Linked DNA regions of Homo sapiens: regions 2, 3, 4, 5, 6 and 7 are each linked to region 1. The links are contacts of gene promoters, found by promoter capture Hi-C in blood cells and fetal thymus (Javierre and others, 2016). All regions are on one chromosome and are shown on one strand. The core of a region is centred on a gene start or on the middle of the fragment in contact, and the rest is flanking DNA. Distances in the headings are between cores, read along the strand shown. Region 1 holds the start of PLA2G4A (phospholipase A2 group IVA). Region 2 overlaps ODR4 (odr-4 GPCR localization factor homolog). Region 3 overlaps ODR4 (odr-4 GPCR localization factor homolog). Region 4 holds the start of PDC-AS1 (PDC antisense RNA 1). Region 5 has its middle 18 kb from the start of PDC. Region 6 has its middle 37 kb from the start of PDC. Region 7 has its middle 58 kb from the start of PDC.

Region 1 (3,739 bases), core at 522-3,021:
AAAAGACATACCTGCAGCAGCCTTTATTCATTATAAAGGTGGAGATAAATCAGCTTCATTTAGTAAGGCGGGAAAGAGACAAACTTCTCCCCGTATATATTAACCCTAACCATGACATATAATGACATTTTCTTTAAAAGCGTTTAAATAAATTTTTTATCTTTAATGCATGACACACTATTGGATATCATCTGGAAATATTGAGAGCTATAACTTTTTGTTATCAAAAAAGCACTAGAGCACTTTTTTTGTGCTCTATAAGCAAGCACTGTGAAGCTGCTTTTCCAGGGAGTCTTTTTTATCAGAGTCTTAGAACGAACATGCCCTGCAGTATAGATTCTTTCTTTCACCAGTTGTGTCTGGGGGAAAGAGATGAAAACTACCAGTGTGCTCTCTGCTCCTCTAATTAACATACACCTCCTTTCTAGAAATTCAGGGATTTCTTTGGAAAGAGAAATTTTTTTTTTTTTTTTTTTTTTTTTTTTTTTTTTTTTTTTTTTTTTTTTTTGAGACGGAGTCTCGCTCTGTGGCCCAGGCGGGAGTGCAATGGCGCAATCTTGGCTCACTGCAAGCTCTGCCTCCCGGGTTCACGCCATTCTCCTGCCTCAGCCTCCCAAGTAGCTGGGACTACAGGCGCCCGCCACCACACCCGGCTAATTTTTTGTATTTTTAGTAGAGACGGGGGTTTCACCGTGTTAGCCAGGATAGTCTCGATCTCCTGACCTCGTGATCCGCCCGCCTTGGCCTCCCAAAGTGCTGGGATTACAGGCGTGAGCCACCGTGCCCAGCCCGAAAAATGTTTATTATAAATCTATCCTTCCTAAAAAAGACATTACTGGCTTTTTTTTTTTTCAAAGAGAGATTTATAATATGCCAGGTTGAATTTAGGGGAAAAAAATAAAAACAAATAAGAGTTGAATGTTGGGCTACAGAAAGCAGATATTCCAGAAGATTTAGTGAAATTATATTCTTTGAAAATATTGTAAGAGAGTTAGGAGAGTGAGTTCAGTATTTAATTAAAGGCAAAAACAAGATCCTGTGTTTGAAAAACAAGATATACTAAATGAACATGTCAATCTTTAAAGACATGAATTGATTCTCATGGAATTTGGGTACATTTAAACAATGCACCTTCTTCATTACAGTGCTATAAGGTATTTGGATTTACACTGCAAATTTGGAATTCAACCTGATTTCATTTTCTTCCCTAAATCTCAACATATATATTACATTATTTGGTATGCCTTTAATCTTAAATTTACAAAGAAATTATTATCAACACAGGTGTTCTGAGTCTGGAGTGGAAATATTTAAACAGATTTGATTTTTAAAGTGGTCTGATACTCATTTTTTAAAAATGTACATTTTTATATTTGGGGTTTGTTATAAACTTTGCCTTTTTAAATAATGCAAAAATGCTCTAGGTTATTCACTGTCTTTTCAATTTTGTTCTCCTTTGGAAAAAAGGAGGAAGTAGTTACTACTTAAGGACAAGTAGCAATTTCAGACGCGCGCACGCACACACACACACACACACACACACATCACACACACAGAAATCCACAACAGCACTCATGGAATTTAGGACTGATTAATTTACATATTATTTAAGCATATTTTCTGACTTCAAACTCCTGGTTCTAATAACTAAGCATTTACATTTACAATATTAGCTTCTATGAGAAGAGAGCGTTCTCCCTCTTCCCCTTTAATTCCACCTTAAAACATCTGCAAAAGCGCAAGGAGACCAGCCCACATTTTAGCCCCTCCTACTCAGGATAAGACTTTCTCTAAGTCCGGAGCTGAAAAAGGATCCTGACTGAAAGCTAGAGGCATTGAGGAGCCTGAAGATTCTCAGGTAACTCTGGGAACTGTAAGCAATATATTTATTCTTCCTCTGCTCCACTTCTCTCTCCCACCCTCCTTAGCTTTTACTTGGTAGTTTACTTGGAAGGAAGAAAGGACGGAGGGGAAACCTCGCTGCTTTAAAAAGTCAGCATGTCCTCTGCCTTTTGAAGTGAAACACAGATTAGGGACCTCAATTTTCTTCAAACCCACGCAGATTTGCCTTCCTGGATCTAAATGCACTGTGGAGTCAAAGATTAAGGTGTTTCTTTGGGTTGGAATCCCAGAAAGTTAGCATTCAAAACGGCGGTGAGGTGGCGCTTATTAGCGTTCCACGTGATGACACCCAATGGTTACTGATCCCCAAACTTGAGCAGCAGCATGCTGTGCTGTTTGACAGCCCTAGCGATCTTTAGCGAGAGACTTTGTTGACTCACTTAACTTTTAATTTCTAAAAATTGGTCATTTTTGTTACTTATGGGACGCTTTCCTGGCTAGTCAATATTTTGCAGAATTATGCGAAAGAAAGAGGATTATTGAAAAATTAACTGTAAACGGACTGGTGTTCTGATGATCCACCCTTCCCCTAAGTTACTTGGCTTGCCAAGAGAAAAAAAAAATCTCAAAACTAGATACTAGAAAAGATTTGATCAAATTACATAGTTAAATTTTGAGTGTGGATATTTCAGTAATTTTGTTTCCAAAAAAAACAGAAAAAAAAGGTATTTGATTTTAAAGTATCAGTGGATGAATGTATCTGTCTCCTACAATTTATAATCATTTTAGTCTTAAAAATAAATTCACCTCCAAAACCAGAACAAGAAATACTCCTCATATGGGTTGATGATGTCAGCATTTATTCAGCTAAGGCAGATGGAGAGTATTAGAGGCGTACTGTCTGAATGGGTGTCAATTCTAAAGTTATATTTGCCAATATAATTTGAGTTCAAAGAAGATTTGTATTTTTGTTTCTCTTTGTTGTTTAAATTTAGAATTGTGGCTCAAGGGATATTTGTAGAGGACTGTAGTGAAACAAGCTCTGTTAAGAATTTTAAAGTTACATTCTACAGGTTCCTACACCTTGCCAATCAAGTTAGAGGTTGGGATAAGAAACAGGTATTTACTTCTTTCATTAGCTCCGGAAGAGTTAAATTTTAAATTAAGCAATAATTGTGAAATGCATAGAGAAGTGTTTAATGTGCATTTGCTCAAAGGAGTTTTACAAACTTCCCTTAGGGGAAGCATATTTTTTGAGATAAGACATTGCATCTTTTTAACATATTTTTAAAAAGTAAGTTATTCTGGCTGGGCGCAGTGGCTCATGCCCGTAATACCAGCACTTTGGGAGGCCGAGGCGGGTGGATCACTTGAGGGCAGGAGTTCGAGACCAGCCTGGCCAACGTGGTGAAACCCCATCTCTACTAAAAATAGAAAAACTAGCCGGACGTGGTGGCAGGTGCCTGTAATCCCAGCTACTTGGGAGGCTGAGGCATGAGAATCGCTTGAACCCAGGAGGTGGAGGTTGCAGTGAGCCAAGATCGCGCCATTGCACTCCTGCCTGAGCGAAAACAGCGAAGCTCTGTCTCAAAAAAAAAAAAAAAAAAAAAAAAGTAAGTTATTCTGAAGTGTTTTGCATTTTTGCATTTACATTTAATTAGGAAAAGAAAAATTATTAAATAGATTTTTAGCAACTGAAAATGTTCATTCCATAGAGGTTATTTGGCTTATGTTTTTAACCCATTATCTTTTCTAGTGCTGGTACTTAGAAAGCAGTCATAAAATCGAATCATCTACATATTAAAATTATGTTCCAGGAATAAAAAAGAGGAAGACAGAATTAGTTGTGGTTCCCATTCATCTTGTTTGCTTTTATTTACCATCAGTTTTTTCCTCC
Region 2 (3,739 bases), core at 897-3,396, 440 kb before region 1:
AAAAACAAAACAAAACAAAAAACTTGAGGAACATAGAATCTGTATCACTTTAAATTGTGTCCCAAATCCCCTTTGTTATTCTGTGGAAATGTATGTGGAAGTTCCCTACTGTCATCATTTCAATTAAAATAAGATACAAAAGGTCACTTGTTGTTTCATTTTACTAATATTTTCCGATCTGTTCATTTATAACTTATAAAACAAATATAACTAGAAAACTGAATAAGCATATTACTTTTTAGTTAATGTAATTCATTCACTCATCCAGTAAACCATTTTTAGGGACCACTCCATGATTTACATTTGAGTTGTCCAAATAAATAAGAAGCTGATATTAAATACATTAAAAGATAAACAACATGTGAGGGAAAGATTGTAAGGCCATCCTTGAAAATTAGCTTCCCTTTAGCTTCCATTATAATGTGGGTATTAATGATTTAACCTGTTACAAATATTACTCAGTTTTTGCATGTCATAAAAGCTAAGGAATTTAGGTATCACTCTAATTAGATTGAGGAATCAGATATCACTCTAACAAGCTTTTTAATTTGTTGTTGAAGTGTTCGTCACAAAAGGATTATGTGATTCTTGCCACTAGAACGCCACCCAAAGAGGAGCAAAGTGAGAACCTCAAACATCCCAAAGCTAAGTTGGATAACTTGGATGAAGAATGGGCCACAGAACATGCCTGCCAGGTTATCTTATTTTTTTGTTTATATGTTTAAGTTTTATTTCAAAAAAGAGCTAGAATCAAGAAGATTTAGTGAATGAGTAGAGAGAAGAGACATAGGGAGAAAGTAGCTAAAGATGACTGAGATTTTTAGTCTGGGTGTCTAGGAGGATACTGTTGGCATTACACGAGGAAGAAACAGATTTGGGATGGGTGAGTGGGAATAATGACTAAATTAATTCACTTACAAGTATTTATTGAATGAATTATATATCATCAAATAAATAATGTTAGAATAAGGTAAAAATAGAATTATTTCCTTTTCTGGGGTTGGGGGTGAGGGGAGGGAACTTAGAGGACAGGTCAATAGGTGCAGCAAGCCACCATGGCACACGTAAACCTATGTGACAGACTTGCACATTCTGCGTTTTTGTTTGTTTGTTTTAAGAAAAAGAATTTTCTTTAATAAATAAAAGATTTATTTCCTTTTCCAATCAACTTTAAATCTTTAAATCTTTTAAACTCAAACGTGTTTCTGTGTATGTAGATATATATATATATATATATGGACATATATTTGTGTCTGTGTATGTGTTTGATTATGGAGCAGTGTGTAGTTATATTTAAAAAAAAAATAAAATCTTGCCTGTAATCCCAGCACTTTGGGAGGCCAAGGTGGGTGGATCACCTGAGGTCAGGAGTTCAAGACCAGCCTGGCCAACATGGTGAAACCCCGTCTCTAGTAAAAATATGAAAAACTAGCCAGGTGTGGTGGCAGGTGCCTGTAATCCCAGCTACTTGGGAGGCTGAGGCAGGAGAATTGCTTGAACCTGGGAGGCGGAGGTTGCAATGAGCCAAGATCACACCATTGCACTCCAGACTGGGCGACAAAGCGAGACTCTGTCTCAACAAAACAAAACGAAGAAATCCAGTATTTAATTATTATTGTTTTAGTCTGTTTGGGTGGCTATTAAGGAATACCTAAGACTGAGTAATTTATAAAGAAAAAAAGGCCTGTTTGGCTCATGATTCTGCTGGCTGCAAGATTGAGCATCTGGTCAAAGCCTCAGGCTGCTTCTGTTCATGTCAGAAGGCAGATTGGAGCTGGTGTGTAAAGATCACTGGGCCAGAGAGGAAGCAAGGGGTTGGGAGGTGCTAGGCTTTTTTTTTTAACAACCAGCTCTCGTAGGAACAAATATAGCGAGAACTCATTCACTGCTCTGAGGATGGAACCAAGCCATTAATGAGGGATCTGCCCCATGACCCAAACACCTTCCATTAGGCCCCACTTGGGTTCACATTTCAACATGGTGTTTAAGGGGACAAACATGGCAACTATCTTCTAAAGAAAATATTAAGTAATGTAAAGTTAAATTCCCAATGGTTTGTAAATAACTTTCTACTCTAATTTTGCTTTTGGTCTCTCATAAAATTGTATATGACACACACACACACACACACACACACACACACAGAATATTAATGAATTTATATAGTAAATTAGCTTAACCTTTTACCTCTAGAAAGAAAAGGTTAATTTTACTTTTTCCCCTTTCTTGCTCTCACCTCCATCTCCTAAAAAATGGTTACTTTTTTGTGTTGGTGATTTTGAAAAGATATGCAGGCTCCTTATGCTAAATATGAAAACTTTATTTGTCAGAATTGTGCTACTATAGTAAATAGAATTTATTAAATCAGAGGAAAACACCGAAAGACATAGTGCAAGTAGATTAAGGATTAGAGCATGGTACCTAATTTTCTAAGACTGTACTCTGATTGATTGCTTGTACATTAAGTAATCAAAAGCTAACCAAAACACTCTAATCTCTGAGTGTAGATGATAGAAAAAAATCCATGTGGTATTAAGAACTAGCCACAATCATGTGAAGGGAAATACAGATATGGAGATATCATGGTAGTATGTATCAAAAACCTTAAAAATATGTATAACTTCTTAAACCAGTTATCCACCTCAAGGGATTTGTCCTAAACAAATAATTCTATGAATGCAGAAAGATGTACTAGGATTTTTAATCAATATTATTTTAAGGTAAAATTAGATATAGCAAAGATGCCCAGTATCAGTAAGTGGGCTTAAAAATTTGAGGTTAATCTATGCAATAGAAAATAATGGATTTTCAAGTCAGACTCCCTCTGTTCAAATTCCAGATCTAGTATGCTGCTAAAAATAGGGATACAGAGGTAGAATTACTTATTCCCTTAAGGAGCTCCCTGACCAACTAGTAGGGTTCACAGATAACTATGATATAAGACTATGTGATAAAATCCATGGGAAAACTACACCAAAGCCCTGTCGGAGTTCAGAGATGAAAAGATCAGAGAAGGCAGCTTCCTCAAGCTGCCTTTGAAGTATCCAGTAGGGTTGAGACATGCAGAAGTATAAGAAAAAGTCAGTTTCGGCCTAGGGAACACCCTGAGTAAAGACACATAGTTAGAAAGCCTAGGATGTGTATGGAAAACAGTTTATAGCCTCATTTGACACTACTTTTCAAGTAGTTTTTGACAAATATTTGAATTACTTGAGGAAAAGTAGTGTCAAATGAGGGTATAAACATCATTGACCAGATCCTAGAAAGTCTGAAATATCAATCTAAAATAAAACTTCATTTTATTTAGCTGATGGTGGGACGCCATTGAAAAAATATTTCAGTCTTTGATCTCCTGAGAAAAGGATTTATTTATTGATGTAGCTAAAGGATGTTGTTATCAGATAGTTTTATTTATAAAGTAGTTTTAAGGTGAAAAGCTAAGGACATGCTAAGCAGACAGTTTCTCAAACAGAAAGGATTGCATATAATGCCAATTTGTTAGCTAATAATATATTTCTATTTTTAGGTATCCAGAATGCTACCAGGGGGACTTTTAGTTCTTGGAGTATTTATTATTACTACTTTAGAACTGGCAAATGATTTTCAAAATGCCCTGCGTAGAGTAAGTTTGATATATCGAAAATTCTTAATGAAATCAGTTATATGTTATTTTTACTGATTATGAGTATGTGTAATGATTCTAGGCATATTTACATTTGTTTTCCATAATTCTTTTTGT
Region 3 (3,739 bases), core at 624-3,123, 420 kb before region 1:
TAAATAAATATGTAAGTTCCTTTTCTGATTTCTTAGTTATTCTTTGCATAGTTAATTCTCCCTTCAGGAATAGGGTGTTTGATTCAGAGTGTGCTTGAGATTATAGTGAGTCAAGTAAGTATTTGATTGGGGAACTTCAAATCTATAGTAAACTGCCTCAAGTTAGTTGCAAACCACCCTTTAGTTTTTCAGCAATACCAGATCGTGATGTAGAGCAATAAGCTTGTTTCAGTGGGGAAAATAAAATTTCTAAATTGCCCAATGCCTGATGTTAAAATAAAGAAGAGCTACTTTCTAATCCCATGAAAACTAATATTTTTAAAGATACAACTCTAGCATAGTTCCATGAAAACTAATATTTCTAAAGATATAACTGTAGCAGATGGAAAGTATCTGCTTTTTGAAAGTAGACTGGTAAAAATGTTTACTGCTTTCCAAAATTTATTTTCCTTGGTTAGTGACTGCATTATCTCTGCCAACGAAACTTAGGATCATGAGGACAGGGATTTTTGTTTGTTTTGTTCACTTCTCTATCGTTAAGGCCTAGCAATAGTTCTTGAGCCATTCTGTTGTTGAATAGATCTTATAATGTTGGTAGGATCATTCAAATTGACCTAATTTAACCTCTTAATACTGAAAACTACATCCCTAGCAGATGGGGATTCAGATTCTATTCTTCTTTATTCTAAATACCAATCTGCCTCCCTGTAACCTATTCTTTCAGTAATATGCAGCAATAAAACATGAGTACCACTTCCTCACTGAGACCATGCTTTAAATTTGAGAGCAACTATTATGTTCTAAACATTTCAAAGCCATATATTCTCACCTACCTTAAGCTGTTCATTTTATTACAGTTTCCAGACCACATTTTTTTCTTACCACCTTGTTTGCTTTCCGGTAGATTAGGAATTTTTAACCTGTGGGGTTCAAAACCTCTGGTGTCAGAGCTGAACTTTTAGAAGATCCACAAACCACTTGAAAGTAATTGTATGATTTTTTTTCTGAAGAAAAGGTCTATCGCTTTCAAAGAGTTTAAAAATTACTTCTTAAATATACTCTGATTTGCCTTCCTTGAAATATGTTACCCTGACGAAGCTAATGCTCTAAAAATAATATAGCCATTATTTATATATCTGCCAGGCACAGTTTTAAGAGTCTTACAAATACTAAATTATCATTCCTTGTAACAACCCTGTGATGTAAATAACATTATTAATCCTATTTTCCAGATGAGAGAATTAAGGCTCAGAAAGGCCAGGTAACTTTTCAAAGTTACATTGCTCGTAATGGTGGAGCTGGAATTTAAACTTAGGCAGTTTGGTTTTAGGGTCTGTGCTTCTTTTCTAAAAATTTTATTTTACTGCCTTTGTGTAGGAGCTAAATAATGAAGTATAGTATGATTATTTTCCATGATATAGATACATATTTTAGCCTGGCGTTCTTCATTCCATCCCTTTAAACATTTTCAAGTGTAAATGGATGATGTTACATTATCTTGGTTTAATTTCATCTAGATTATGTCAATATAATTTCTCATTTGTTGGCTGGAATCTTGGATCTCATTATTTATGTTTATATAAACATATAAACAATATATAATGTTTATATATAATATAAACATATACATACATAAACATGTAATATAAACAATTTGTGTATGTATGTAAACAAAAATGTTTATATATGTGAACATGTTTATATGTTTATATGAATATGTTTATAAAATATATAATATAAACAATATACAAAAATGTATTGTTTTCTTATAAAAATATAAAATATATCATGTTTATATATAATTTTTTGAATTATTTGTCACATTCTTGTGCATCTCACATTCTTAAACTAAGAATGACTAAGGGTAGCACTGTATGCAAAACTTGCCCCATTCACAAGTTACTTTAAAAGTCAGATATAAAAGAATAGGAAGAGAGAGTCATTTCATCTAGGTTTTTTAAATAATTCTTAAAAATATTTCTGTCTTAAGTATTTTTAACTCATTTAATTTCATGTTGTATGTTAAACACAAGTATATAGACTAGTTTAAGACTGTTTTATTCAGTTCTTTTTAAGTTAATATTTTAACAAACAGTTAGTAACAGAGGTTTATATTCTTTCTTTACATTGCTAAGACATTAAAAAAAATTAACTTGGGCAACATGGTGAAACCCTGTCTCTACAATAAAAATACAAAAATTAGCTGTAGAAGTTTCAATGGGCCGTGTTTACACCACTGCCGTTCAGCCTGGGTGACAGAGTAGGACCCTGTCTCAAAAAAAAAAAAAAAAATTAAGTAGCTTCAACCACTGTAATGTATTCCTAAGAGGTAACTATGGCAACCTGGCATGACAGCCTCCCAAAACCAAAACTAAAACCCAATAAATTCAAATTCTCATGAAACCGTTACATGTGCATTTCAGCAAACATCTGTTGAAAGAGCAAAAAGGGCCTTTGCCTCTCTTGCTTACTGTTGTGTTTCTAGCACTTTACTAAGAGCTTAGCCTTAGCATGTCATAGGTATTCAGTAGATATTTGTTGACTGAATAAATTATTTATTTTGTCCTATGGATTAGAGTCCAAAGAACAACAAAATGCTGATTCTGTCTTCAAGGAGCTAAGTAGATTTTTGTTTGTTTGTTTTTTGAGACGGAGTCTCGCTCTGTCTCCCAAGCTGGATTGCAATGTTGCATTCTCAGCTCACTGCAACCTCTGCCTCCCGGGTTCAAGCGATTCTCCTGCCTCAGCCTCCTGAGTAGCTGGGATTACAGGTGCGTGCCACCAAGCCCAGCTAATTTTTGTATTGTTAATAGAGATGGGGTTTCAGCATGTTGGTCAGGCTGTTCTCTAACTCCTGACCTTGTGATCCGCCTGCCTCAGCCTCCCAAAGTGCTGGGATTACAGGTGTTAGTCACCAAGGCCAGCCAATAGAGTTTTTTAAAAAAATGTCTGTGTAGATACTATGTTTTTACTAACTTCAGACTTGTTCAGACTAGGTAAACTCCTTCACTAAACTTTCTTGTAGTTCCCTCTTCTATGCTGTTCTTCTATAATACTTTACATACTTGTAATTATTTAAATCATCAATTGCATATTTAATGTTGATCTTTCACATTAGACTATAAGATTTTTGAGAGTAAGTAGAGTATTTATCTGTACCTAAAACATGGTAGGTGTTCCTAATTATTTGTTACTGATTCATAAATACTGAATAAGTGATTCTTAGGAAACTACAGCACTTCTTGTTTTCACATTTATTTCATACTTGAGAAATTATTAGCTTATGCCTGTACAGACAAGGTTTTTAAGATTTGTGTAGTATAGTATATTGAACATGTTGAGGGTTTAAAAAGTCTATAATATTCATAGCTGTATGGCTCAGTAGTTCAGAACATTTTCAGGAGTTTTGAACATTTAAGACATGAAATTATGTCTTTTATATGAAAATATGTAGCACTAGTTGTTGCCCCAGAAATTTTAATCTAGTTTACAGCATTTAGTATGTCTCTTTATCAGATGTTTATTAAGCTTATGCTCTGTTCAAGACAATATAATAGATATGAATCAATAACTTGATTCCTTTCCTTTAGAAGCCTAGAGGAAAGATAGAATGTATATGCGTGATTAGTTATGCAGAGAATGTAGTAAGGTCCTAAGAGTACCTAAGAACTCCATCAAGATTAGTGATCAGAATTTTAGGGTCTCCAGTGATTTGGTTAATAATTTAATCAGAAAAAAG
Region 4 (3,739 bases), core at 867-3,366, 390 kb before region 1:
GAAATAAAATAACCTAGGGTGAAACACCTTATTTTATGAAAAACTAATTTTTAGGAGCATTTTCTTTTATACTATGTAAAAAAATCCCTGAAAGATGAACAGACTTTGACAGCTGTTATAGGTGAGAGCCTCAAGTAAAGATAAAATTAAATGTTTTCCTTAAATGCTATTGCCCAAATAATGAATATCCATAATTGAAAACTGAGATTACCTTATACTTTGCTTTGTTCTCTCTGCCAGAGTCCTACCCACTGTATTAGTTGTTAGAGTTGTGGAACTTAACCGAAGCTTTCTCTGGATTCCAGGTAACTTTGTTCTTTTGTTTTTGTTTTTTTCCTGCAGAATCGATATATGGGCCTGAAATATATTAAGGTAGATCTTCTAATCTTAGATAATCCTGAATTTTTTTGTTAATGCATTCTTTGCATTGATGATTGCCAGTATGAAGTATGCTGTGATATGAAAAGCACAGGAACCAGGGATGGGAGGCCCAAGGTTAAATTCAACCTCTATATCTTCCTGGTTGCATAACCTGGACTAGTCAGCTAACCACAAACACTTCAATTTTGTCATCCTTGAGGAGGACATATTGAAAACATTGTTCTACCTACCTCATAGAGCAATTGTGTCTCGTAGTTCTTCCAGTGAGATAATGTATGTGAAATAATTATGTAACATAACACATCATAAAAATGTTGGCTATCTTTGGTGCAACAAAGCTATTCCACAGCATGGATTATACTGTCTTTACATCAATTCTTTAGTAATTATGAACATACATAGTATTTGACTTTTATATATGTTTCAGGAATGCAATATCTAACTTATTCATGAGGTACTTTATTTTCATAGCAAGGCATATAAACAACTACCTATGACAAATGTATTTGTTCTTAAATGATTTTTCAAATTTTTGTTATTAAAAGCACAGGAGTTACTGCAGTAGCACCTATCTTGAAAAGTCAAGTTAAAATGATTATTGTTTGTGTATATAATATATGTGTGTGTGTGTGTGTATTGTGTGTGTAATTTTTTCAAATCCAATTGTTGTAAAAGATAACTGTTTTGTCATAGAGCCTGCATATTTTTATCTAAATATATGTTCGTACCATTTTAGTCATTATACTCTTTTCACGTTTTAAACTTCCAGTTAGAGACCAAACTTTTGAAAATTGACTAGAGAAATGCTGCTGTTGAGTTTACTTTCTTCTGAAAGAATATCTTTTCCTGTAATGGGAGGTACAATATTTCTGTACAGAGCTACTTCACTCCCACAAGTCATAGGTCATCAAGAAGAGCATCTACATCCCCAAATGTTTCAGAGTGTAAGTCAAAAACTCTTACAATTCCACTTCTTTTCATGTGTCTCGTAGATGTTTTAAGAATATTTTCAGCTGCATGGCTTGACAGCCTTGGGATTCCCTCACACATTCACAGTCTTTTTTGGATCAGTCTGATGTGAGCATGAAAACTGGGAGTTGTGGAGCCCACTTAGGAAATGATTGCAATTGTCCAGGAGACAGATGATGGTAATTAAGTTTCCATCAGCCTGGAACTCAGGACAGAAGATACATATTCTGTATGTAGAGGTAAGCAGTTCTTTCCTGGGGATGATTTTTACCTTCCAGAGGACAGTCGGCAATGTCTGAGGATAGTTTTAGTTGTTGCAACTGAGGGAGGGATGCTAATAGTATCTACTGGTTAGAGGCCAGGAATGCTGCTAAACATACTATAATGCACAAGACAACTCCCCACAGCAAATAATTATCTGGTCCAAAATGTAAACAGTGGTGATTTTCAGAAGCCTCGGTGTAGATGGTACCTGAAGTCGTCAGAGGGAATAACAGCATCTGAAGTGTGAGGGAGGAGACTAATCCAGAAAAACACCAATAGACAAGGAGCATGCATGCCCCCGGTCACAGAAGCAGAGAAGAATCTGTAGAGTGGTATTATGAAAACCAAAGTGAGGAAAGAATTTCAATTTGGGATTGGTAATCAGCATTCAATGTAGCCGAAAGTTAAGTAAGATGAGGACTGTTGAGTCTAACAGGCTTGGTGGTTAGGTGGTGTATTGGATATTCTCCATTTGCTTCTTAAAATTCACGTTCTATCTTTCTCCATCCTGTTTTATCCCTAGAGAAGGTTGACTTAACAGACTTCATCAACAGGGTTCTCTTGTCCTCTGGCTTTCAGCTGGATTCTGACAATGAAAGGTTCTGAAAAGAGATAGAAGAGCACGAGGAGAGAGTGCAAGTTGTTTTTCCCTGAAGCTCTGTCCCTCCTGGGCCACAGAGTGACAGGGGCAGTGTTTCTCTTCCAAAAGCAAAAGCTCCTGTTGGGCAGCTTTTTCCTATAGCTGCAGGTCTCACTGGTTTCTTGCCCCCTCCAGGCCTGTGGGTAGGAGTCACTTTCACCTGTTAATAGGTGGTGCTTCACTATCTTTTGTTAGTTTCCTGCCTAGACCCTTGTAAACAGTCTTTTTTTTTTATTATACTTTAAGTTTTAGGGTACATGTGCACAATCTGCACGTTAGTCACATATGTATACATGTGCCATGTTGGTGTGCTGCACCCATTAACTGGCCATTTAACATTAGGTATATCTCCTAATGCTATCCCTTCCCCCTCCCGCCACCCCACAACAGGCCCTGGTGTGTGATGTTCCCATTACTGTGTCCATGTGTTCTCATTGTTCAATTCCCACCTATGAGTGAGAATATGTGGTGTTTGGTTTTTTTGTCCTTGAGATAGTTTCCTGAGAATGATGGTTTCCAGCTTCATCCATGTCCCTACAAAGGACATGAACTCATCATTTTTTATGGTTGCATAGTATTCCATAGTGTATATGTGCCACATTTTCTTAATCCAGTCTATCATTGTTGGACATTTGGGTTGGTTCCAAGTCTTTGCTATTGTGAATAGTGCTGCAATAAACATACATGTGCAAATAGTCTTCTTTAAACTCCCTTCAATCATACCTTTTCTGTTTGTGTTGTTTCCTTCCAGGGACGTGCCTGACACAGAGGTCATTGCTGATCTGTATCAGAACCACTTTCAGTGGAATAGTTGAGGCAGATAGGTGGAAAAATAAATGGAAAGAAAGGAAGAAGATTAAATAAGAAAAATTGAATTTTTGTTTGTTTGTTTTTGCAAGGAGTTTTGGGAATGAAGAAGAGAAGGAAAATACTGGAGACAATAGGTAGTAATAATTTGGAAGAACCAAGACAAGTTTTTAAATAAGAGATAGAAAGTTGTTTTTAGGTTGTGAATAAAAAACATGGAGGGGATAGAACTGTAATATGAATAAAAAAGAAATTTGAATGTATTATAATCCAATTAAAAGCACAGATGACAATATTAGTCTCACATAGAAACACATCTTTGAGAACAATAAAATGGAAAATAGCTGAGTTAATAGATGTGGGGTAAGAAATTAGGGAAGTTCATGCCTGGTGGGCTCAGTGTCTACTGGGATGTTGAAAGAAGGTCGTTTAAGGATGTAGGAGAGGGAGACTGAGGAGAATAATGAAGGTTTGGAATAGCTGCTGTGGGAAACGGAAGAGGGATCTGTTTGCAGAACAAGCTATGGACCCCAGTTGAAGAGCACTGATTGGTTGATATATGTATGAAATTTTGAGGAAGATACAATTTTGTTGAGTAGGACTTACCAGCTAGTAGTTAGGAAAAGAGAGATCAGATGGTTGAAATGATTGGAAGTTTGGGGATTTAAACGATAAGTG
Region 5 (3,739 bases), core at 773-3,272, 350 kb before region 1:
GGTAAAGAGGTCAGACTCCAGAGTCAGACAGATGTGTACTTGAATCCTGGCTATGCTACTCACAGCAGTACAATTTGGAGCAAATTACCTAACCTCCACACCCTGGTTTCCTCATTTGAGAAATAATAATAATAACAACAATAACAGCGCCAACCTAATAGGTGATTTGTGAGAAGTAAATGTGTTGAAACATATGAACAGCATTGCCCAGTGTCTAGCACATTGCTCAAGGAATGATTATTGCTATTGGATCAATTTCATGGTCCAGGTGTCACATAGTCCAGTGCTCTATTTCCAGCAGAGAAGGAGAGGAATGTATTGTGGGATATGATGTTTTTTCCTGCCATCGGCCTTAAAAGCTAAGAAGTCTTGATCTAAAAGGCCATCATTCATAACTTCGTCCAAACAGTTATTAATCCATTCATTTTTTCTATCTATATCAGATATGCTGAAATGTTTTATAAATTTATTAAATTTATGTGTAAATTTAAAACAACACTTCCTTTTGTCTGACACTCAGGCCACTATGCATTGAAAGCACATCTCCTTGCCCTGGGATTTTGTGATATAGGAAATAAGTCTGGGTATAATTTCTATACTATTCACAACTGAGAAAATAATATGAACATGTTACTTTTAATGTCAAAAACTGCAATTACTTTTGCACCAACCTAATATTTCAGCTCCTACTGTGTTTCAGGTACTGTGCTAGGCCTTTTACATGCTGCATTTCACTTATTCTCCAAAATAGTCTTATGAGGTAGGAAATAGTATTCTTTAAACAGAGTTTACATTTATGAATTCTAGCCATAATACCTTTAGGCACCAATGCTCTAGAGTAAAGCTTCTCTATGTTTTCAGTCAGTGTTCATATATAGCCTTTTAATCCACTATAGTTTTTTTGTATTTGACTACCCAGAGATAGACGTTTAAGGCTACGTAATGAATTGGTTGAGGGCAGAAGGTATTAATTATGAAAGACCTTGATTCCTGTCCTGACACCAGACTAGTGTTGGCCTTGGGTAAGTTGCTTAACTTCGTAGGGCATTTGCTACTTTACATGTAAAATTTAGCTACTTCATAGATTTATTTTGGGGATTAAATGACTCAATTAACATAGTGTAAAAGGTGGGAGATAGAGTCTGATATTTAATAAGCACTCATTTAAGGGTAGTCGTTATTTTTAGTGAACATGCAATGAGCTACTTATGGATAAAACACACATACACACACACACACACCCAAAAATCATAGGGGATACCAAGCTAAAAATGACATGCTTACAGTGTTTGGACTTACAATTTAGTAAGAAAACAATATGCATGTGTGAGAAGGGTCCTCTTTTAGGGATATAAACAGGGCTTTGTAAGAGTGTAGGAAGCAGTGATGAATTTTTAGTTTGGGGTGCAGCTTGAATGAAAAGAGGTGGAGAAAATAGTACCTGAACTGGATTTTTAAAAATAAATGCATGCTAGTATTTAGAGAAGGGAGTGAGGATTTTCTAGATGCAGGGAATGATATAACTAAAAGCCCAGAACTATGAAGTACAGTATTCAGGGAAGGGTGACTATTATAGTGTGTGGTGGAACTAGGGAATAGAATTTGTGGAGACATCAATTTAGAAATAAGACTAAAAGATATACCCTAGTTTGTTAACTACCTTGCTAAAGAGTTTTAATCTTACTGCCTTATTGTTTAGAAGATTTCTATGTCAGGAATGTGGAAAGTACATTTGGAAAGGTGAAAGAGTCAGTGAAAACAGTTAAGACATTGTACAGATAGTTTAGTTGAAATATGATGAATCCCTGGACAAGGGTAGTGGCAAAAGCAATGGAACAGAGGAATGAATGAATACAAAAGACACTTCAGAGATAGAAGCCAAAGGGATGAATTAATTAATGACAGTGGTGGGAGAGGGGTGAGGAAGGAGTCAAAGATGATGATATTAGTCACTGAGCATCACTGAGTGATACTATTCACTGAGATCAAACCCTCATGAGGGAGGTTCGGGAACAAAGAGGATTCTGAACATAATGATATGAAGTACATTTGGGTAGCCCAGGGAGAGATGCCCTAAATACAAATGGAAATTTGGGCCTGAAGCATAAATGAAGAATCTAATATTGTATGTAAAAGAATATTATTATAATTGACAAATATAATTTACATCGAGATACCCTTGAAAACCTCAGATTGCCTTTTGAATTCTTAGTATTAGCAATTTTCAAAATCTAGGTATATAGAACACATATATTCTCTGTATAACCCACAGAGCATTTTAGGTGGAATCTATCCTTTAATACCAGGCTCTTATTTTTTCTTCTAACCTAAATCTGTCTATTTAATATCAGCTCTTATTTTTTGTTCTTTTTTTTTTTTAAATAAAGAATACGGTATGGGAGGGTCAGTGATTGTGGAATTCACTTTTGCAAGTGCTTTGCCAGAACCTGTTTTATCAGCTCACATAAACCCCACCTGCTGGGGCTTCGTCTTAATTGGCAGTCTTGTAATCCTCTTGTGAGATTTAACTGGGCAGCTTTATCTATAAATAACATTAATTTTCAAGGATGAAGTGCAAAGCTGCAGTCATGGTGATGAGAGATTGTTGAGCCCACCTGCCTTTTTAATCCAGTGTTAGTCCCTAAACCATTTGTCAAGTTTTACATTGTTATCACACATCTAGTACCTTAAAGAATAGTTCATAAAGAAAACTTTTCTTAGAGGGAATCTGAAACTGTCTTAGGATTTAGCTTAATAATATTATTGTTATTTTAATGCTTAATTAGGTAATATTTGGATTACTTTTAATAATTTACAAAATACTTTCACTGACATGATTTCATTGTGATTGTCACAATAAACTGATTGGAGGGAGCATTATTATTATAATTTAATTGATGAAGAAACAGATTAAGAGAGGTTGAGTAACTTGCTCAAGATCCCAGAGCCAATAAAAGTTGGGACCAAGATGTGGACATTAATTTGATTCCACATGGGTTTTTATTCCTATTACTTATATATAGCTATTTTTCTAGTAATATTGCTACATCTGAGATATAGTATTCCTCCTTACATATGGACTATATATTTTCTTGTTTTCCACCTTAAAATTCTTAATATCTTTCAATATGTTAAATGTGCAATTCAAATGTGATCAGCACCTCAGGAAATTTGTATGTTAACTCACCATGTTGATGGTGTCAAGCTTGTAAGATTCTTGTTTGATTTTCTTTTTAAAATATTCTATGTAGCTACATGACTATGTGAAGCTTAAACTAAATTATGTTCTTTGCCATAGTTATAAACAACACATATTTTGGCTTTATTTAAAAAATATTGGGATTACTTTAAGTTATGGTATTTAAATTTTACTAAAATAGAAAACTAAGAAGAATGAAAAATGACACTGAAATGGAGCTAGAGGTAGAGGAAACAATATGGTAAGTAAATACTGTTGCTTATATCCTGAATCTGTTCTGAAGACAGAGCACCATGTTGCCCTATTTTTTTTAAGAAAATATTTTGAATATCATCCTTAGGGATTGAAAACTAAAAATTGATCCTTCACCTAAAGTATGTTGTCTTCTGAGTGGGAAAAAAAGGTCAAAGACTAAAAGAGAACCCAGTTTAGGACTCTGCACTGGCCTTTACTGGAAGGAGCAGCTCCACCAGCTGTGGCTGCTTTCTTTACCCTGGTTCAGACACTAGAGCCGTTTAAGGAATCGAATACCATTTCCCT
Region 6 (3,739 bases), core at 751-3,250, 330 kb before region 1:
AGTCATAGGTCAATGGAGAACATCCAAAAATCATTAATTGACTGGATCAGGAGCAACAGGGCAGCCAGAACCTCCCTTATGTGAGGTTTTACCTGCTCCCATATTTCTTGAAAGGGAGATAGGAAAAGAAGGAGTGAAGAACTGGCAAGGAGAAGGTGAAAGGAGGAAAATGGACTTGGTTCAGACTTCATGCTATTTCCTATTCGGAAGAAAGAAACTAAATTCTGCAACTGCCTTTTGTGTCCTTAGGAGACCTTAGGATATCATGTAGACCTCCAGGAATGAGGTAATGAGGCATAAGATTTCTCTTCTTTAGAATCTTGTTCACATTATGACTGGAAAATTTTACTTCACACACACCTACACACATACACATCTATGCACATAAATATACATACTCCTATATCTATATGTACAAATGCACACACATTTACACCTACATATACATACACAAACATATGTTATTCTCCCCCAATCCCTAATCCCCAAGCCCACAAAGAGTCTTGTTCTTGCCATGCCAAACCATCTTCCCTGCTTATAAGAGAAAGGAGAGCAGTTCTTTCTATTGTAGAAATGTGTCTGATACACATTACATTCTGCATCAGCATCATATTTAGTTGTTCTACTAGCTCTAGTAGATTTCAAGGCCATGATTTTATATTATTGAATTGTCAGCATTTAAAATATTTAATTCTGCTTCCCTTTCACAATTATCGACTATATTCCCTTGGACTTGGAATGATGATATAACTTACAGGACAGGATTTGCCTGTTTGCTTCATCTTGACTCTTAACCCTTTTCTTTTTTTTTTTTTTTTTTTTTGAGACAGGGTCTTACTCTTACCAGGTTAGAGTGCAGTGGTGCAATCTCGGCTCACTGCAACCTGCGCCTGCAAAGTTCAAGTGATTTTTGTGCCTCAGCCTCCCGAGTAGCTGAGATTACAGGTGTGTGCCACCATGCCCAGCTAATTTTTGTATTTTCAGTAGAGACAGGGTTTTGCCATGTTGGCCAGGCTGGTCTCTAACTCCTGGGCTCAAGTGATCTGCCTGCTTCAGCCTCCCAAAGTGCTGGGATTATAGGAGTGAGCCACTGTGCCGGCGTTGACTCTTTTTATTTATTTATTTATTTATTTATTTATTTATTTATTTATTTATTTTTTGAGAGAGTTTCACTCTATCTCCCAGGCTGGAATGCAGTGGCAGGATCTCAGCTCACTGCAACCTCCGCCTCCAGGTTTCAAGTGATTCTCATGCCTCAGGCTCCCGAGTAGCTGGGATGACAGGCGCCTGCCACCACACTGGCTAATTTTTGTATTTTTATTAGAGACGGGGTTTTGCCACATTGGCCGGGCTGGTCTTGAACTCCTGACCTCAGGGGATCCGCTTGCTTAGGCCTCCCAAAGTGCTGGGATTACAGGTACGAGCCATGGCACCTGGCCTCTTATTCTTATATTAAACAGAAGCATAAGAAATTGCCATTTTCATAAGTTAAAACTGGTAAAAAAAAAAATAGCAATTTCATATGGTTAAATTCAAATATTACATTAATTTTCATTTAGTGGTATTATTTTGATCACTTATATTATTAAATTTCTTAGATATTTTGTTTCTTTGCCTTAATCATTTCCCCCCGATAAAAGCTTGGGTTTTTTTTTTTCTAAATATCATCTGTTGTTGATGAAGCCACTAGGTACAGATAAAAGAGGAGGAGATTTATTTCTTAATCTCTGTCTTTTTGGACAAGGTCTGGATAATCTTTTCCTTCTTGGCCTGTAGCTGCTTCTTAAAGCACTAGTGGCCTCAGCATAGTCATTTTATGAGACCATTTTCTGTGGTTTATAACAGACCTGAAACTGGGTAATTTATAAAGAAAAGAAATGTATTTCTGACAGTTATGAAACCTGAGAAGTCCAAGGTTGAGAGAGTGCATCTGTTGAGCGCCTTCTTTCTGGTGGGTACCATGAAGAATCCCGAGCATCACATGGCAATAGGGAGGCATGTGCTAATGCGCTTGCTGTGATCTCTCTTCCTTTTCTTTGAAAGCCTCCAGCTCCTCCCCCATGATAACTCACTAATTCATTAATCCATGAATGCATTAATCTATTCATGAGGAAAGAGCCCTCATGATCCAGTAACCTCTTACAGGTCGTACCTTTCAACACTGTCACATTGCGGATTAAGTTTCCAACACATGAAATTTGGGAGACACAGTCCAACTACAGCGGTCATCCAGGAGCCTCTTGTGAACCCTACCTGCTTTTTCAGCCTGGGGAACGTGTTTCATGAGAATCTTGTTTGTAAATATTTGTTCATCTCTTGGTATGTGCCATGTTACCTAAAGCCATTTGTTTTCTTCAGTCACAAGCTTGCAGATAATGAGCTCATTTTTTTTTTAAATCAGGTTAAAAATTTGCTGATAGAAGTTGGTGTTGGTGATATTACCATTTTCTTTGGAGTCTAGCCATACCTTTTTCTTGCTATAGCAAAGGACTCCTTGAGAGTGAGCCTTTTCTAAAACTTGAGTACTTGACCTCTGGGAACTGCTATTTCATATCTCACGCCTGCCACCCCTATCACTACAATAGGTCCAGTCTCAGGCACCTTTTTCCCAACTAGTTTTAACAGAATATGAAGTGCTTTGCTGAATCCAGAAAAAGACAGACTATTTTGTGGAATAATAACATCTCTTAGGGTGAGATGGCTTATTTTATATGTCAACTTGCTGTGCCACAGTACTCAGATATGTAGTCACAAATTATTCTGGATATTTCTATAAGGGTGTTTTGGGATGAGATTAATGTTTAAGTTTGTGAACTTTGAGTAAAGCAGATTGCCCTCCATGATAAAGGTGGCCCATATCTAATCAGTTGTTGGCGTGAATAGAACATATGACTCACCTCCCCTGAGCAAGATGGAATTCTGCAAGTAGCTACTTTTATATTTGAACTACAATACTGGCTCCCTCCTAAGTCTTTAGCTTGATGGCCTTTGGACTTGAATTGTAGCACTGGCCCTTCTCTGGGTCTCTACTGGCCCGCCCTGTAGATTTTGGGCTTTTAGCCTCTATTCTCAGTGAGCCAATTCCTTAAAAATAAATCTCTTTATATATAAAATAAATCTATCTATCTGTCTATCTATCTATCTATGGTACACACCACACACACACACACACACACACACATTCTATTAGTTCTGTTCCTCTGACAAACCCTGACTAATAATACACAGGGGATGAAAACTAATGTTTATTTAGTGCAGGATACGTGTCAGGCATTCTATACATATTAACTCAGAATCCCCTAGACAACTCTCGGGGTAACAGATGCAAAAAGGTTAAGGAACTTGCCCCAAAGCATCCACTTAATGACAGACCCTGGTTTGAATTAAGGTTTGTATTATTCTAAAGTGTCTTCAACTACATGACCCTGCATGAAAGAAATGCATTTGATAAGTGAATACTTCCTGTGTTCTTATAATAACCTAATAACATAAGGAAGCTATAAAACTCTCTTTTGTTAAGGACCATATTACTCTCTCCTTTTCTCACTTTCTAGCAAACAACTATCTTTTTTTGGTGGTGGTGTTGATTAGCATCTATTCTTCTTTCTAGTAGAACTGATTTAGTTGAGGATTTACCTTTCTCCCATTGTGTATAATTGTGTTAGGAGGGAATTTCAGGCCCACCTCTGCCTGTAACTTTAATGGGTCAGAACAATTCTTTCCCACTTCTTTGAAATGC
Region 7 (3,739 bases), core at 396-2,895, 310 kb before region 1:
AAAAATTTTTTAAAAACATCATTCTGCTTTCCCCCTACTTTGGGATATCCTAACTATGATTTAGAATTTAATTAATATGTGTATAAAAAGTAGGGGCATGCTTTCGGTATTCTAACCTAGAAACATGGCAATAGCCAGAGACCTCTTGACTATTTCTCTGAGAAACTTGATCCACTTGCTCAGTCCTTTCTATCCTCTCTCTGATACTATCTCTGCCACTTACCTTATGGTCAAGGCAGTATCAGAGAGCATTTTGCATAAGTCTTAAACCTTTATGTTCCACATTTTGTTGAGACTCTCTTAAATTCCCAACATACTCATAATCTATCTACAAGCCCCCTCACACAATGAGTTTACTTTTCTCTCATCACATAATATAAAATTCTTTAAAACCACCAGTCTTAATACTGCTGATGTTTAACCATTGGGATTACAAGCCTTTTAGAATGTGATTGTGCAGCCTATACCAATCACATAACCTGTATTAGGGTTCTCTAGAGGGACAGAACTAATAGGATAGATTCATATATAATGGGAAGTTTATTAAGGAGTATTGACTCACATGATCACCAGGTGAGGTCCCATAATAAGCTATCTGCAAGCTAAGGAAAAGGAAGCCAGTCGGAATTCCAAAGCTGAAGTCCTATGTTCGAGGGCAGGAAGCATCCAGCATGGGAGAAAGATGTAGGGTGGGAGACTAAGCCAGCCTAGTCTTTTCACATTATTCTGCCTGCTTTTATTCTGATCATGCTGGCAGCTGATTAGATGGTGCCCACCCAGATTGAGGGTGGGTCTGCCTTTCCCAGTCCACTGACTCAAATGTTAATCTCCTTTGGCAACACCCTCACAGACACACCCAGGAACAATACTTTGCATCCTTCAATCCAATCAAGTTGACACTCAATATTAACCATCGCATAACCATATCAAGACCTGATTTAAAATAATTACAGTTTAAAAAATGCTGATTTTGGATGGTTTACAAATGGCTTCTGACTTAAAAAACAAGGATGGAGATTTACAAACCAGGTATGCTATAGCCTCAAAAGAACATGAAGTTGATGGTGGGACTCTTCCTTCATATATGAGTGTTTAGCAAGCTAAATTATAGGCAATAATTTGGGCCTGCACTCTGGCCAGAAAACACACTGTAAAAAAAAAAAATATATATATACATATACATATACACACACAGATAGTTGACAGACTTTTGGTGTTGACCATAATTTTGGAATGCTTTGGAAACAGAGAGGTCTCTCTCTCTCTCTCTCTCACTCTCTCTGTCTCTTATGGTCTTGTCTGAATAGAGAGGTTTTTAACTTCATCCAGACATCACATAAAAAATGGTGCTCTAGTTAATGAATTACTAAATGCCATTCAATTACCTAAGAAAATGGCTATAAATAAGGTGCCAGCCCACTGCACTAAAGATACTAAAGAGGCAAAAGGAAATGCATTAGCTGATCATAGGAGCAGCTATGACTCCTGGTTTTGTTATAAACTAAGTGTAAATGTATGCCCCATGACCTCCCTGGCATCCTCTCTCATTATGCCCCCTGAGGAATCCATGGAAACTATAACAAGACATACACAACAACATGCATTTGTCAGTTAGATTAATAAATGAAAGAACAAGACTACTATTTAAATACACAAAAGGATCTCTGGAAAGGTCTCAGTGAAAAAACCTATATTACCTAAAACGTTATCAAAGTGTTTGTTAGAAAAACTCCATGATTTAGCTCACTGGACAGATGATAAAATGTTTGCATAAACAAAACAATATTGGTGGGGAAAATTCTGTTCTGAGGCAGAACAGGTAAGTAACACATGTACAACGTGTCCAAAGTTTAACCTGGGAAAACCCATAAAAGTTTCAAGGGGAAAATTTGACCTACTAGAAGCCCTCTTTGAAGTATTTCCGTTGTATTTTATCCAGTTACCTCCCTTTTGAGATTACAAATATGTTTTGGTTATGGTCTGCATGTATTCAAATTGGGCAGAAGCCTTCTCTTGTCATCAAGCAACTGCCATGGCAGTAGTGAAAGTGTTACTAGAAAAAATAACGCCTCTTTGAGGTGTTTCTAAAGAGTTACACAGAAACCAGCATACACATTTCATGAGACAGAGTCTCCAATTCCAACTATAGGCAAGGCATAACCTACATTTTAGTACTTTCATTGTGCATACAATCTTCAGGATTCATTTAAAGAACTAATGGAATAGTAAAAACCCAATTGGGAAAATATATGTATGATTAAATTGCCTTGCCAAACTGTTTACCATTAGTATTGATGAATCTGAGAGCTATCCCCTTAAAAAAACATCACCTAGCCTCTTATGAGATAGTTATAGGCATACCTATGCCATCACCCTTAGTTCGTTCTGACTCCATCCTTATTAAAGAACCAGTACTTCAGTAATGCAAAGGACTAATCACCCAAGTGAATTGTAACTATCAACTTGTAAATGATGCTTTATGAAAGAGCTTCTAGGAGATGATGACACACTACATCATATCTAATCAGGAGACTTTGTTTATAAGAAGTACTTTATATCCAAACCTTCTCTGGAAACTTGATGAGATGAAGTTTATCAAGTGTTGTTAACTAATCTTTGTATTTCCAAATTACAGAAAATAAACTCCTGGATCCATATTTCACACCTTAAGAAAGCACTCCAACCCCCAAGGGCATCAACTTCAACAGGAAAACTGACCCTTCAACTTACCAAATCTTTGAAGTGACTAGTTGTATAGTACAACAAGCAGAAAATTTGCTATGGAGGTTGTGTTAACTGTTGACATTTATGTGAGATTTTTGCTGCATATTTGTTAGAAAAGGCTCAACAAAATTATAATAAACAATGATTGTGTTATTAATTTTTTAACTGTTATATCAGTTATAAATGCTTGGAATGAAAATGCCTTAAGGAAATTAGTCAATAATGTCACATATGTTACTTTTTCTAATTGGATCTGCCATGATTGCTATAAAACTTTGTCCTTCCACTATGACTCATGAGTAACTTCAATAACAAACTGCTTGGGAATTCCCAATGCCACAGTAGAACTAGTATATGCAAACATTATTTATTATCAGGGTGCACATAAAGGGAAACTAGGACAAAAACCTACCCTGTTTCAATTTGATCTTGTTCTCTTAAGCATGGAAAAAGAATACTTGTTGCTATAACTCAACAACTAAAACTCTTGTTTCTCAGGAGAAAATGCAAAAAGAAAACCAGTTTATTTGTCATTTTTGGTTTTGCAAATGCTAATCAAAGTTGGTCTTTATGCAATGCAATTTTTCCCACTCTTAAAACTGACTGATAACAGCAAATCAGACTGAACCTAAAAATGACTCCTTCAAAAGTACTAAAAGCCTGTGTGCTTATGTTTATATATTTGTCTGTGAATGGGGACCAAATCCTTTTATATGCTGGGGAAGAAAATTCCTTGACTCTTGGTCATTAGCAAGTCAGTGTACTTGGGTGCTCATGTCACTAAAATACCTCATTTATCCCTCCAATAACACCTTCTTCTGGCCAGAAGGATTATATTTATCCTGTTTCAAAAGGGAAAATCCTGGAGCACCTGAGGCATAAATATGTCATCTTCTGCCCAATTAGTGTTTTTTTGTTTGTTTGTTTGCTTTGCCTGGAGTAGAACATGGAGAAATATGATCATGATTACTGATTTCTCTCAAATCCTAGGCAACCTAGCTGATACGGTTTATCT

The links. Contacts are between HindIII fragments. The CHiCAGO score rates a contact against its expected background, and 5 or more counts as called.
Region 2: a contact is called between a fragment that was not itself captured here and the fragment with the promoter of PLA2G4A in region 1, in 1 of 17 cell types (monocytes). The highest score is 6.2, in monocytes.
Region 3: a fragment that was not itself captured here is called in contact with the fragment with the promoter of PLA2G4A in region 1 in 3 of 17 cell types (monocytes, neutrophils and megakaryocytes); the score reaches 9.8 in monocytes.
Region 4: a contact is called between a fragment that was not itself captured here and the fragment with the promoter of PLA2G4A in region 1, in 1 of 17 cell types (neutrophils). The highest score is 7.2, in neutrophils.
Region 5: a fragment that was not itself captured here is called in contact with the fragment with the promoter of PLA2G4A in region 1 in 4 of 17 cell types (monocytes, neutrophils, megakaryocytes and 1 more); the score reaches 12.0 in monocytes.
Region 6: a contact is called between a fragment that was not itself captured here and the fragment with the promoter of PLA2G4A in region 1, in 1 of 17 cell types (neutrophils). The highest score is 5.9, in neutrophils.
Region 7: a fragment that was not itself captured here is called in contact with the fragment with the promoter of PLA2G4A in region 1 in 1 of 17 cell types (monocytes); the score reaches 5.4 in monocytes.

Annotation. Positions count from the first base shown.
Region 1 is chr1:186,827,178-186,830,916 of GRCh38, forward strand. It overlaps PLA2G4A (phospholipase A2 group IVA), which reads left to right and starts at 1,772. Exons shown (of 18, transcript NM_024420.3): 1 at 1,772-1,858. The HindIII fragment of the contact is 13,801 bases long and covers 1-3,739 here.
Region 2 is chr1:186,382,462-186,386,200 of GRCh38, forward strand. It overlaps ODR4 (odr-4 GPCR localization factor homolog), which reads left to right. Exons shown (of 14, transcript NM_017847.6): 3 at 561-695; 4 at 3,527-3,622. Among named protein-coding and RNA genes, the nearest start is that of ODR4, 8.5 kb to the left of the region's middle. The HindIII fragment of the contact is 3,219 bases long and covers 538-3,739 here.
Region 3 is chr1:186,406,918-186,410,656 of GRCh38, forward strand. All of the region lies in intron 12 of ODR4 (odr-4 GPCR localization factor homolog), which reads left to right. Among named protein-coding and RNA genes, the nearest start is that of PDC-AS1, 26 kb to the right of the region's middle. The HindIII fragment of the contact is 3,306 bases long and covers 221-3,526 here.
Region 4 is chr1:186,434,985-186,438,723 of GRCh38, forward strand. It overlaps PDC-AS1 (PDC antisense RNA 1), which reads left to right and starts at 177. Exons shown (of 5, transcript NR_126002.1): 1 at 177-305; 2 at 1,374-1,589. It also overlaps a transcript of ODR4 not described here. The HindIII fragment of the contact is 3,661 bases long and covers 287-3,739 here.
Region 5 is chr1:186,476,848-186,480,586 of GRCh38, forward strand. No RefSeq gene overlaps it. Among named protein-coding and RNA genes, the nearest start is that of PDC, 18 kb to the left of the region's middle. The HindIII fragment of the contact is 2,361 bases long and covers 843-3,203 here.
Region 6 is chr1:186,495,983-186,499,721 of GRCh38, forward strand. No RefSeq gene overlaps it. Among named protein-coding and RNA genes, the nearest start is that of PDC, 37 kb to the left of the region's middle. The HindIII fragment of the contact is 725 bases long and covers 1,639-2,363 here.
Region 7 is chr1:186,517,141-186,520,879 of GRCh38, forward strand. No RefSeq gene overlaps it. Among named protein-coding and RNA genes, the nearest start is that of PDC, 58 kb to the left of the region's middle. The HindIII fragment of the contact is 5,903 bases long and covers 1-3,739 here.